2 separate regions of the Homo sapiens genome follow, and region 1 is linked to region 2. Evidence: promoter capture Hi-C in 16 types of primary human blood cells and fetal thymus (Javierre and others, 2016). All regions are on one chromosome and are shown on one strand. Each heading gives the region's core, a stretch centred on a gene start or on the middle of the fragment in contact. The rest is flanking DNA. Distances are from core to core; before and after follow the strand shown. Region 1 overlaps ITGB4 (integrin subunit beta 4). Region 2 holds the start of TMEM94 (transmembrane protein 94).

Region 1 (6,659 bases), core at 2,416-4,915, 290 kb after region 2:
GTTTTGTGTGGGGATTTTTTGCTTCTTAATTTTTGGGGGAGACAGGGTCTTGCTATGTTGCCCAAGCTGGTCTTGAACTCCTGACCTCAAGTGATCCACCCACCTCGGCCTCCCAAAGTGCTGGGATTACAGGAGTGAGCTACCACGCCCGGCCTAGTTTTTGTATTTTTAGAAGAGATGGGGTTTTGCCATGTTGGCCAGGCTGGTCTTAAACTCCTGATCTCAAGTGATCCGCCCACCTCGGCTTCCCAAAGTGCAGGGATTACAGGTGTAAGCCAGTGCACCTGGCCTTTCTAGTTTTTAAATGTTGGCAACAAATCCATAATTAAAAACAAAGGCGGGGCATGGTGGCTCACACCTGTAATCCCAGCACTTTGGGAGGCTAAGGTGGGAGAATCACTTAAACCCAGGAGTTCAAGACCAGCCTAGGCAACGTGGTGAGACCATGTCTATACATATAATTTAAACATTAGCTGGGCATGGTAGTGCATACTTGTGGACCCAGCTACTTGGAAGGCTGAGGCAGGAAGATCACTTGAGGCCAGGAGGTTGAGGCTACAGTGAGCCATGTTCATGCCACTGTACTTCAGCCTAGGCAACAGAGTAAGACCCTGTCTAAAAAAATAATAATAATTAATTTTTTAAAAATCAAACAAAAAAACAAAGAAACAAAACCTGGCTCAGTGCAGTAGCTCATGCATGTAATCCCAACACTGTGGGAGGGCACAGTGGGAGGATCACTTGAGCCCAGGAGTTGCAGGCCAGCTTGGGCAACATAGTAAGACCCTGTCTCTATTTTAAAAAAATAATAATAATAATAAAGGCCAGGCGAGGTGGCGTATGCCTGTAATCCTAGCACTGTGGGAGGCCAAGGCAGGTGGATCGCCTGAGGTCACGAGTTCGAGACCAGCCTGGCCAACATGGTGAAACCCTGTCTCTACTAAAAATACAAAAATTAGCTGGGCATGGTGACACGTGCCTCTAATCCCAGCTACCCGGGAGGCCGAGGCAGGAGAATTGCTGGAAACCAGGAGGTGGAGGCTGCAGTGAACCGAGATCATGCCACTGCACTACAGCTTGAGCGACAGAGTGAGACTCTGTCTCGAAAAAAGAAAAAAAAAATTATCTCAAAAGTAATAAAGTCTCGCCTCCCTGGGCCCACAGGCCCATTCAGCAAACATAGGGGAGCGCGTAGTCAGCAGGCCCGGGCTGCCTGGCCACATCCTAATTTTATTTACTTCTTTTTATTGACAGGAACTGTTCTCATTATTTTTCCAATGTCCCCCCATAAAAATTCCAAAGAATAATTTTTTTCTTTTAAGAGACAAGGTCTCCCTCTAGTCCAGGGTGGAGTACAGGGGCACAGTCCTAGCTCTCTGCAATCTTGAACTCCTGGGCTCAAGCAGTCCTTCAACCTCAACCTCCCAAGTAGCTGGGACTACAGATGTCCACCACCGCACGGCTAATTTTGTATTTTTTTTTCTTTGAGACGGAGTCTCACTCTGTTGCCCAGGCTGGCGCGATCTCAGCTTACTGCAACCTCCACCTCCAGGGTTCAAGCGATTCTCCTGCCTCAGCCTCCCAAGTAACAGGGACTACAGGTGCGCACCACCACACCCAGCTAAATTTTGTATTTTTAGTAGAGACGGGGTTTCACCATGTTGGTCAGGCTGGTCTCGAACTCCTGACCTCGTGATCCGCCCACCTCAGCCTCCCAAAGTGCTGGGATTACAGGCATCAGCCACCGCGCCCGGCCATTTTATATTTTTAGTAGAGATAGGGTTTCGCCATGTTGCCCAGGCTGGTCTCAAACTCCTAGGATAACATGATCCTTTTGCCTTGCCTTCTGGCTACCCTGTTACACTTGTATAAAGATGCTTTGAGGCTGGGTACAGTGGCTCATGCCTGTAATCCCAGCACTTTGGGAGGCCAGGGCGGGCAGATCGCTTGAGATCAGGAGTTCAAGACCAGCCTGGCCAACATGGCGAAACCCTGTCTGTACCAAAAATACAGAAAATTATCTGGGTGTTGTGGTGTGCACCTGTGGTCCCAGCTACTCGGGAGGCTGAGGTAGAGCCCAGTAGGTGGAGGTTGCAGTTAGCCGAGATAGTGCCACTGCACTCCAGCCTGGGTGACAGAGTGAAACCCCTGTCTCAAAAAAAAAAAAAAAAAAAAAGCTTTGATATTTGTTTTTTAAAACATTTTAATTTCTCACCTTTTTATTTTTAAAAACTTCAACTTACAGAAAAATGGAAGGAACAGTAAAACTAGCACCCATTTACCCTTTACATAGATTCACCGATTGCTAATATTTGCTTTCTCTCTCTTTCTATATAGATAGCAACATAGAAATATAAATAGAGATGTGGACATCTGTATCTTCACATTGATTATACTAGTACCTAAAATTAGTCCATATTCCAGCCAGGCGTGGTGGCTCACACCTGTAATCCCAGCACTTTGGGAGGCTGAGGCAGGTGGATCACCTGAAGTCAGGAGTTTGACACCAGCCTGACCAACATGGAGAAACCCCATCTCTACTAAAAATACAAAAATTAGCCGGGCATGGTGGCACACGCCTGTAATCTCAGCTACTAGGGAGGCTGAGGCAGGAGAATCATTTGAACCCAGTGGGTGGAGGTTGCAGTGAGCCAAGATTGCGCCACTTCACTCCAGTCTGGGCAAAAGAGCAAAACTCCATCCCAAAAAATATATAAAATAAAATAAAATAGGTCCATATTCCAATGTCCCCTTGTTCGGATGTCCCAATAATGTCCTTTATAGCGTTTTTCCCCCCAATGCAGGAACTAATCAAGGATTTGGCATTGACTTTTGTCACGTGTCTTGACTCCTTTAATCTAGAAAAGTTTCCTGGCTTTGTCTTCCGTGACACTGACTTTTGTTAAGACAAGGTCTCGCTCTGTCACCCAGGCTGGAGTACAGTGCCTCACTGCAACCTCTGCCTCCCGGGTTCAAGCAATTCTCCTGCCTTAGCCTCCCGAGTAGCTGGGATTACAGGCACCGGCCACCATGCCGGGCTAATGACACTGACGTTTTTGAAGTATCCATGTAGGTTGCTTGCAGGCAGCTCCCTGGTTTGTTTTTTGTTTGTTTGTTTTACAACTATGGGTCTCACTTTCTGAGTTGGGTGGCATGAGGTTGCCTCCCCAGCCATCGCCCTGGCTGCTGCGCCTGGAATTGAAATCTTGCCCTGAAGTGCCACCTAGTGGTCTTCTATGTGAAGGATTTTCTTTTTCCTCCCAGTTCTTATCCTGGAAAGCTCAGGCATGCTCCACGGCACTGAAAGGAAGATGGGTGGCTCACGCCTGTAATCCCAGCACTTTGGGAGGCCAAGGTGGGCGGATCGCTTGAGGCCGGGAGTTCAAGACCAGCCTAGGCAACATAGGGTAACCGTGCCTCTACAAAAAAAAAAAAAAAAAAAATAGCCAGGTGTGGTGCACGCCTGTAGTCCCAGCTACTCAGGCGGCTGAGGGGAAGGATGGCCTGAGCCCAGGAGGTCAAGGCTTCAGTGAGCTGTGATTGTGCCCCTACACTCCAGCCTGGGTGACAGAGTGAGACCCTGTCTCAAAAACAAACAAACAAACAGAAACGTGGCTGGGCATGGTGGCTCATGTCTGTAATCCCAGCACTTTGGGAGGCCAAGGTGGGAGGATCACTTGAAGTCAGGAGTTCGAGACCAGCCTGGCCAACATAGTGAAACCCCATCTCTACTAAAAATACAAAAATTAGCTAGGCGTGGTGGCAGGTGCCTGTAATCCCAGCTACTCAGGAAGATGAGGTGTGAGAATCATTTGAACCTGGAAGGTGGAGGTTGCAGTAAGCCGAGATCATGCCACTGCACTCCAGCCTAGGTGACAGAGTGAGATTACGCCTCAAAAAAAAAAACAAACAAAAAAAACACAAAAACCTGAACCTCGTGTAAGTACTCCACCCAGCAAGCAGGGATGGTCTCTGCAGTGTCCATGAGGTTGGGAGGGAGCGTGTGGCCATGACTCTTGCCTCAGCCCCCAGCCATGACCCTGACCCTGACCCCCTCCACTCCCAGGACTACATCCCCGTGGAGGGTGAGCTGCTGTTCCAGCCTGGGGAGGCCTGGAAAGAGCTGCAGGTGAAGCTCCTGGAGCTGCAAGAAGTTGACTCCCTCCTGCGGGGCCGCCAGGTCCGCCGTTTCCACGTCCAGCTCAGCAACCCTAAGTTTGGGGCCCACCTGGGCCAGCCCCACTCCACCACCATCATCATCAGGGACCCAGGTAGGCAGAGCCTGGGGGTCGGCTTAAGCAGGAGGAGAGGGAAGACTGGGGGGTCTCTCAACTAGGTCTGTCAGACTTAGCAAATCCAAACACAGGACGCCCAGGTAAATCTGAATTTCAGGTAAACAACATACACGTTGGTAGGATAAGTATGTCCCATGCAATATTTGGAACATACTTATCCTTTTTTTTGCAAAATGGGCTGGGTATACTGGCTCACACCTGTAATCCCAGCATTTTGGGAGGCCAAGGTGGGAGGATCACTTGAGCCCAGGAGTTCTAGACCAGCCTGGGCAACATAGTGAGACCTCGTCTCTACAAAAAATAAACAAATTAGCTTGGCATAGTGGTGTGCACCTGCAGTCCCAGCTATTCCGGAGACTGAGGTGGGAGGATCACTTGAGCCCAGGGGGTCTGGGCCGCAGCAAGCTGTGATCGCACCACTGCACAGCACCTGGGCCATGGAATGAGATCCTGTCCCCCAAGAAAAAATAATCTTGTTGTTTATCTGAAATTCAAATGTAACTAGGCATCCTGCATTTTATCTGGCAACCCTACAGCTAGAGAGGCTGTTGTCACCACACAATAGGAATTCTCCCATCAGACCCTGGCCCTTTGGCTTCAGCCTCAATTCCAACTAACATGCAGATGCTTGTGGAAGGAAGGAGTGGGCCAGTTAGTTCCTATCAGCCCTCAGCCTCCCAACTGGGAGAAAGCCTGCCAGGAAGATGGGAGAGGAGGGAGATACTCAGGGTACAGTGTGGAGATGGGGTGGGGAGCAAATGTTCTCATGTGGAATGTTCCCTGAGCTGCCAAGGGAGAAAGGGGCAGACCAACTCCCTCCCGCTTCTGTTCCTCCAGAGACCCTCCTGGGTCCTCCGCCAAGCTTGGCAGGATGCTCTATGTGGCAGCAATGGGGCACCACCAGGTCTCCAGAGACGCGGGTGGGCAGGTCTGAGTTGAATGCGCTGGGTAGAGCGCCCTGGGTGTTGAAGTGGGTCTCTGGCGCCCCCTGGTGGTGAAGGGGGATCTGAGTGGTTGCCCGGCCCCAACCTGACCCGTTAGATGAACTGGACCGGAGCTTCACGAGTCAGATGTTGTCATCACAGCCACCCCCTCACGGCGACCTGGGCGCCCCGCAGAACCCCAATGCTAAGGCCGCTGGGTCCAGGAAGATCCATTTCAACTGGCTGCCCCCTTCTGGCAAGCCAATGGGGTACAGGGTAAGGCGGGGGGCTGAGGGTCACGACAGGTGGATGGGCGGTCTGGCACCAGCACTCACAGAAGAGGTGGGCCGTCCAAGGCCAGGGCCCCCTGAGAGAGAGCAGACAGTGGAACCTAGCACAGGTGGTCAGAGGGAAACCCGGTCTGTGCTGGGAAAGAGGGAAGACCCATTCCTGAGTTTATCAGACATTTGCCCTCCTTCCTAGAATGGGGCCCCCTCCCACCCCCGCATGGGAGATACCCCCACCTGCTCTGCCCTAGTCCTGACGTGTGCACATGGCAGATCTCTCAGCCCCTCCCTCGGGCCTCATCTGTGCAAAGAGGACAGTAAGGGCAGAGGTCAGAGGAGGGACAGGCAGCTTGGGTGCCTGCTGCTCCCTGCTGACCAGGACCCCTGTCCCTGGGGGTAGGTAAAGTACTGGATTCAGGGTGACTCCGAATCCGAAGCCCACCTGCTCGACAGCAAGGTGCCCTCAGTGGAGCTCACCAACCTGTACCCGTATTGCGACTATGAGATGAAGGTGTGCGCCTACGGGGCTCAGGGCGAGGGACCCTACAGCTCCCTGGTGTCCTGCCGCACCCACCAGGAAGGTGAGGCCTCGCCATGTCTGTCCATTTGTCCCCTGGCTGCCCTGATGCCAGCATGCCCAGACCTCCCTCCCTCTGCCACTGACAGCACTCTTCCTGTATTCCCCGCTCCCTAGTGCCCAGCGAGCCAGGGCGTCTGGCCTTCAATGTCGTCTCCTCCACGGTGACCCAGCTGAGCTGGGCTGAGCCGGCTGAGACCAACGGTGAGATCACAGCCTACGAGGTCTGCTATGGCCTGGTCAACGATGACAACCGTAAGAACCAGATCCTTCTTTCCTGCCCACAGGGAGAACAGCCATGGAAGGGGAGGGGACAAAGCTGGAGGGAGCTCTTGGTCACTCCCTGGACCTGCTGTGCAGGGCACTCGAGGCCTTCATCCTGGTCAGCGGATAAGCCTGAGGCATCTTTAGGGTTTTGGCCAGATTTGGGCTGGGTTGCATTCTAAGACCAAACCCAGAAGGTTGCAGGGTGGGTGGTTACCTATGTGGAGTGAGGTCACAGGCCCAGGGGTACCCCTCCCCATGCAGGTAACCAGGGAGCTCACACGTGCATGGTTTTCTTAGGGTGAGAGGAAAG
Region 2 (6,726 bases), core at 96-2,595:
CAACATGTTCAAACCCTGTCTCTACTAAAAATACAAAAATTAGCTGGGTATGGTGGCAGGCACCTGTAATCCCAGCTACTCCGGAGGCCGTGGCAAGAGAATCACTTGAACCCGGGAGGTGAAGGTTGCAGTGAGCCGAGATCAAGCCATTGCCCTCCAGCCTAGGCGACAAGAGCGAAACTCCGTCTCAAAAAAAAAAAGAAAAAAAGAACCTTTAAAGCAAAGCGTAGGGAACCAACCATGTGACGAAGGAGCAGAGGTGGAAAGGTCTCTGTCACGTTTAAAGAATGGTGGTTAATCTATGTGGCTGCAGGAATAGTTTAGCCTGTGGGGACTTAGACCTGGAAACGTATGTCTGAGTCAATTTATGAAGGACTTTGAACATCAGGCAGAAAGATTTGGACCTATTTGCAAAGGTGAACTATCAGTTTTTGTGTGCAGGTTAGTGACATGATTCTTATGGCGTTTTAGGCAACAGCTAAACTGGGTCATACAAGATTAGGTACTAAAATGCCATCTTCTTGTCCAGCTGAGAAAGGGATTTTAATTACGTAATTAAACTCATGAATGTGGGAAGGGGCTCTTACTTCACAAGGCCAACCTCAGCTCTTTCCCAATTATATAAACAAGTTTTTGTTTGTTTTTTTGTTTTTGTTTTTTTTAAACAAGCCTTCCAGACTTAGATCTCTGGGAAAAGAGAAGTAAATACTGACACAGGCTTGCTTTGTTTTCCCAAGAGAGGTCTCCCAGGCGATTTATCTAATTACCTAGAAAAAAAATTTAACTTGTTTTTCCCTTTAGATTTCAGCCGAGCTGGAAGCGGGAGGGGGGAATTGCAGTATTGCCTTAGATTTTCTAGATTTGGTTTGGACGCAATATTCGTCCTGAGGGAGTCCCTCCAAGGCCTCTCGGAGCGGGCAGCCTCTAGGCATTTGTTCAAGGCAACAAGGAGGGAGCTTAGAAGAACTTAAGAGAGGCGGGGAGCTCTGCAAAGGGCTTATTTTAAAAAGAAAGGGAAAAAAGGTGGGGCGCGCCGTCTATCTTTTTAGAATAATTCTGTAGGAAAACGAATCGGAGGTAAAGCCATGCCCTCTGGTCAGGGTTTCTGGACTAGAAACTGCCTGAGCTTTACGCACAGGAAAGGACAGTGGCTCTTCACTCTCCCGGCCGCATCACTCGGCACCTAATTCCGCCAGGCTCCCAGAGGGGCGGTTGCAGCTACAGCCTAGCACGCCGCGTAGCCAATAAGAAGCCAGAATTCCCCCTATTCTCAAATCCTGACCAATCGGTGGCCTGAACTTTAGCTCTCTGGCCGGCGCCTCTGTTGCCCGGAAGGGAGGCAAGCCCCCTTAGAGTTGCCAGTAACGGACATGGCTGCGGCCCCCGGAGGAGGGGACGTGAAGTGAGGAGGGGGTTGGGAGGGGAGAGGACGCGGGCGAGGAAGACCAGCCCCGGGGCCCCGGTAAGTACGAGAAGGCCCGTGGCCCGAAAGTGGGGAGCAAGGGGGCGTGGGGCTCGGCCTTGCGCGTCCTTTGGATTCTTGGCCAAGGAAAGGGGAGTCTGGGGTCTGCACCCAGAGAACGGCTTAAGGGGATGCCTCCTGAGGGGGAGTCCAGGGACTGGCTCTAGTCTCCAGCTCTTGACCATTGCCTTCCCCCGAGTCTTCAGACTCTTGCTCTCAGCCCTGGATTGGTCCATTGTGGGGTCTCTCGCCAGAAATAAAGCCTCTCGCCAACAAAGAATCCCTGCCCCAGGTCTGTCGTGCCTAGGCCCTGGCCCAGAGGGCTCCCAACGCCGACGCCCTGAGTATTTATTTCGAGGCCCCTGGGAGTCCTCATCCCCGACCTAAATAAAGACCGTTGTCCCGCCTGCGCGCGCTCTCCGCAGCCGCCCGGGGTCCTCGCGCGGCCGTCCCCAGCTGGATGGAGCCGGCCGAGGGGCTCCTGGCAGCCATCCCTGATCTTGCAGTTTGGAGCGGGCTTTTTTTTCTTTCCGCCTTTCCAGAAGCGTTTTCAGGCTCCTCGGAAGCTCACCATCCATGCCATCGGATAAAGTGACTCCTGTGGAATGCCCTCGTTCCTGTACCGCACACCCCTGGAGCCCAGGTCTCCTGGTTCCTAGCATGCCACGATGCGGCCCCTGCCCGCTGCCCAGCGCCAGATGCAAGCAAAGCCCCGCTCTTTCATTGGTGTGTCACCGCGGGCTAAACTTTGGCGTTGCCTTGGTCACGTGCTGCTACATCCCACCCTCTCTCCTGAGTTTTTCGGTGGCTCTTGAGGGAAAAAAGGAGGGAGCTCGTTATGGAATCTGTTTTCCTTCTGCTATGTGGGTGTATGCATTGGAGAGAAGGATCTTTTTCTCATGATTTATCCAAGACGCTCAGCTTTAGTGACATAGTTGTTATTCCGCAGGTAATCTTGGAAGATGGAAGCAGGGAGGGGGCAGTTTTAACATTTTCATTTTGCAGATGTGGAGATTGTTCGGAGAGGCAAGGCCAGGGTCACCTAGAGCCAAACTAGAATCCGAAAGTCCAGGGGCTTGAGTTCTTTATCCGCTAGACCTAGTTGTTTCCTAGGTGTGACCTGAGGAGATCAAGTTCCCTGACTCCCCTGAGCTCTTGCAGGGTGGCTCTGGGCATTAAAAGCGATGGGCATTAAAAGTAGGATCCTCCTATGCTTCCTGGCAATGACTAGGGTCTTCATACCTGGTTTGCATTCAGTAATTTTAAGAAGCCAGCAGGTAGTTCTCTGGCAGACTTCTTGTATTAATATTCATTGTAGTCTCTGTCTGTATTGGGGGCGTAAATTATTTTAGTGATTCTCAGGGCAGCGAGAGGCAGAGTAAGAGGAAGGTATGCCTCTTCCTTGGTTTTTGGGAACCATTACAGTGTCATTAGAGATGTTATTAACAGGAACGCGTTGCATACAGGAACAGCGTGGAGGCAGAAAAAGATTGAGAGCCATTGAAGAGAGAAGAAATGGCACTGTGGTATCTCTTTATAGTACTTTTGGCAAAAGAAGAGCTGATCTTGGTATTCTGAAGAGGTAGTTTAAAAAAAAAGTTAGATCCTGAGGCATAACTAAAAGAATACAAATAAATAAAAAAATTTAAAGCAATGGCACTAGTAAGGTTCAAAAGAGTCAAAGTAATGCCTGTAATCCCAGCACTTTGGGAGGCTGCTGTGGGAGGACTGCTTGAGCCCAGGAGTTTGAGATCAACCTGGGCAACACACTGACAAGAAAACCAAAAAAATTAGCTGGGCATGGTGGCATGTGCCTGTGTTCCCAGCTACTTGGGAGGTGGATGCCAGAGGATCGCTTGAGCCCAGAAGGTCGACGCTGCAGTGAGCTGTGATCATGCCACTGCACTCACTCTAGCCTGGGCAACAGAGCAAGACTCTGTCTCCAAAAAAAAAAAAAAGAGTCATGGAATCAAAAAGTTTGAAAATCACTGTAAAGATCAGAGCACATTAAAATGTAGACTATTGGCCGGGCGCAGTGGCTCACGCCTGTAATCCCAGCACTTTGGGAGGCAGAGGCAGGCGGATCACGAGGTCAGGAGATCAAGACCATCCTGGCTAACACGGTGAAACCCCATCTCTACTAAAAATGCAAAAAATTAGCTGGGTATTGTGGCGGGTGCCTGTAGTCCCAGCTACTTGGGAGGCTGAGGCAGGAGAATGGCGTGAACCCGGGAGGCAGAGCTTGCAGTGAGCCGAGATCGCGCCACTGCACTCCAGCCTGGGCGACACAGCGAGACTCCGTCTCAAAAAAAAAAAAACAAAAAAAACAAAAACAAATAAAATGTAGACTATGGTGGTTAACCCTAGAACAGGAGACAGCATGTTCAGATAAAATCCTCAAACATTGCAAGTCTTAGCTGCTATGTTAGCTCTAACTTCCTTGCTCACTGGTTCTCTTTGTCAAAACTGCAAACAGGGAAACTGGTGGATACTGTGGAGTAGTGCAATGACCAGGGAGGTGAAGTACAAACCATCTTCTTCATCATCAGCCCCCAAATAATTGAGAGTTAACTGCCCTTGAACCACCAGACCACCATGCCCCTTGTTTGTGGTGACTTGACATCAGATGAGACTGGGAGAGCCAGGCCTTGACAGTGAAATGGAAGAGAAACCCCATGGCATTTCTATTTTGAGAAGTTGCTAGGTGTGCCAGCTCCTAGTGCTGAGAACCAGCCTTTTGGAAACCTTAACTCCTGTAGAAACTAATGAGAAATGAAGGTTGTGATCGTCCTGTTCCTGCCTGCTGCTCTCTCCCTAAGTTGGGCTTGAGAAACAGTTTCTATAGGAGAGGGAGGAGTCCTAATGTAAATACCACCTACACCCAAGGCTGTATGTATTTAGCTTAATCTGATGAATCAGGTTGAACTCGTACCTTAGCAGTCTAAGCCTGAACGCCATAAAGCCTTTAAGTCCATTCCTGGTGTTCAAGTGAGAAGGTTCTGGGTCAGGCGTGGCACTGGTTGGTAAATATGTGTCAATATTTCTTATCTTACTATTGTGTTAGTGTTGTTTTTACGATGGTGTCTTTCTTTACCCAAATGATAGGATTTAAAAATATTGTTTAAAGCCCGTTTCCAAGCAGGCCTGGGTTTGTTTATAGCAGCACAGGTGAACTAGAGGGTAGGCCATGGCTGAAACAGGAATGCTTTTCTTCCGAGCAGACCCGCCAGCCAGAATGTGTGGTTTGGTGATCAGGGGTTTGTGTAATAATAAGCTTTGCCTGTGGCCACTGAGACGGTAGTAAACAGTATGGGTCACATGGCATGACAAGTAGGTTAAGGGCCAGATTTAGACACTGATGGCCTGCGTAAGGAGGAGCAAACCACACACTGCTTGCTTTGGGTTTCTCTAGCTCCCAAGGCCAGAAGTGATGGGAGAGGGGTGAGGGGTGTCAGAGAGAAGAACCTTGAAAGGCTTAGAGTGGTATTTGAGGAACCATAAATTTTAGTGTACTATAATTAAATGAACCCAATTTTCATAACTTCAAGGGCTTCTTGAAAAAGGGGTTCATGGTACCAGTCTTGCTTGGTAGGGAGGTGAATAGAAAAATACTGGGAAACACTTAAAAAAGATGTATGCTGGACAAAGACTCAGGTGTACTGAAAGAGCGTAAACCTTCATTATGTTGACGTGAAAGCCAAGTAGGGAATGTTGCTTAGCTATAAGGCAGAGCCTATTGCAAAATCAGAATCAGGAGCTGCTGATTTTTTTTTTTTTTTTTGAGACAGAACTTGCTCTGTAGCCCATGTTGGAGTGCAGTGGTGTGATTACGGCTTACGGCAGCCTTGATCTTCTGGGCTCAGGTGATCCTTCCACCTTACCCCCTGAGTAGCTGGGACCACAGGCACATGCCACCACACCTGGCTAATTTTTGTATTTTTTACAGAGACGGTTCTTGCCCTGTTGCCCAGGCTGGTCTCAAACTCCTGTGCTCAAGGGATCTGCCTGCCTCGGCCTCCCAAAGTGCTGGAATTACAGGTGGCCAGAAGTTGCCGATTTTTAAAATTAAGGAAAAAAATACATAGTATAACATTTTCCATTGTAACCAGTTCTGTGGCATTAAGTACATTTGCATTGTTGTGCAACCCTCATCACTATCCATCTCCAGAACTTTCTTAGTTTCCCAAACTGAAACTCTGTCACCATTAAACATTTAACTCCCCATTTCCCCCCTGCTCCCACCCCCGGCAACCATCTTTCTACTTTCTGTCTCTGTGATTTTGACTATTCTAGAAACCTCATATAAGAGGAATCATACAACATTTGTCCTTTTGCGATTGGCTTTTTTTTTTTTTTTTTTTTTTTGAGACAGAGTTTTGCTCTATTGCCCAAGGCTGGAGTGCAGTGGTGTGGTCTCAACTTACTGCAATCTCCGCCTCCCGAGTTCAAGCAATTCTCCTGCCTCAGCCTCCGGAGTAGCTGGGAATATAGGTGCACACTACCGTGCCCGGCTAATTTTTGTATTTTTAGTAGAGCCGGGGTTTCGCCATGTTGGCCATGCTGATGTCGAACTCCTGACCCCAGATGATCCGCCTGCTTCGGCCTCCCAAAGTGCTGGGATTACAGGCATGAGCCACCGTGTCCAGCCTGAAGTTGCTGATCTTTTAAAGACATATTGGATACATTCACATGGTTTGAAAATCAAAAGGCACAAAAGTATATGTATTCAAGGGCAGAAAAAAGTATAAAAAAGAATTTTTTTAAAAAGTATATATAGTAAAAATTCTTCCTGCTCCCAACCATTCCCTAGCCACTCAGTTCCAATTTATTAATTTTTCCTTTTGTGGATTATGCTTTTGGTACTGAATCTAAGAAATGTAATCCACAGTAGGCCGGGCGCAGTGGCTCACGCCTGTAATCCCAGCATTTTGGGAGGCCGAGGTGGGCGGATCACGAAGTCAGGAGATCGAGACCATCCTGGCTAACATGGTGAAACCCCGTCTCTACTAAAAATTAGCTGGGCGTGGTGGCGGGCGCCTGCAGTCCCAGCTACTCGGGAGGCTGAGGCAGGAGAATGGCGCGAACCCGGGAGGCGGAGCTTACAGTGAGTCGAGATCGTGCCACTGCACTCCAGCATGGACGACAGAGCAAGACTCCGTCTCAAAAAAAAAAAAAGAAAAGAAATGTAACCCAAAGTCACAAAGATTTTTTCCTATCTCCTATATAAATTTTACAGTTTTTTTTGTTTTGTTTTGTTTTGTTTT

The links. The method cuts DNA at HindIII sites, captures the fragments that hold promoters and counts their contacts. A CHiCAGO score of 5 or more calls a contact.
Region 1: a contact is called between a fragment that was not itself captured here and the fragment with the promoter of TMEM94 in region 2, in 7 of 17 cell types (endothelial precursors, naive CD4 T cells, M2 macrophages and 4 more). The highest score is 6.6, in endothelial precursors.

Annotation. Positions count from the first base shown.
Region 1 is chr17:75,744,775-75,751,433 of GRCh38, forward strand. It overlaps ITGB4 (integrin subunit beta 4), which reads left to right. Exons shown (of 40, transcript NM_000213.5): 27 at 4,067-4,271; 28 at 5,337-5,494; 29 at 5,906-6,086; 30 at 6,200-6,337. Among named protein-coding and RNA genes, the nearest start is that of GALK1, 17 kb to the right of the region's middle. The HindIII fragment of the contact is 2,980 bases long and covers 2,176-5,155 here.
Region 2 is chr17:75,455,290-75,462,015 of GRCh38, forward strand. It overlaps TMEM94 (transmembrane protein 94), which reads left to right and starts at 1,346. Exons shown (of 32, transcript NM_014738.6): 1 at 1,346-1,462. RefSeq lists an enhancer at 1,043-1,092 and silencers at 1,243-1,402, 4,596-4,645. The HindIII fragment of the contact is 5,875 bases long and covers 1-4,734 here.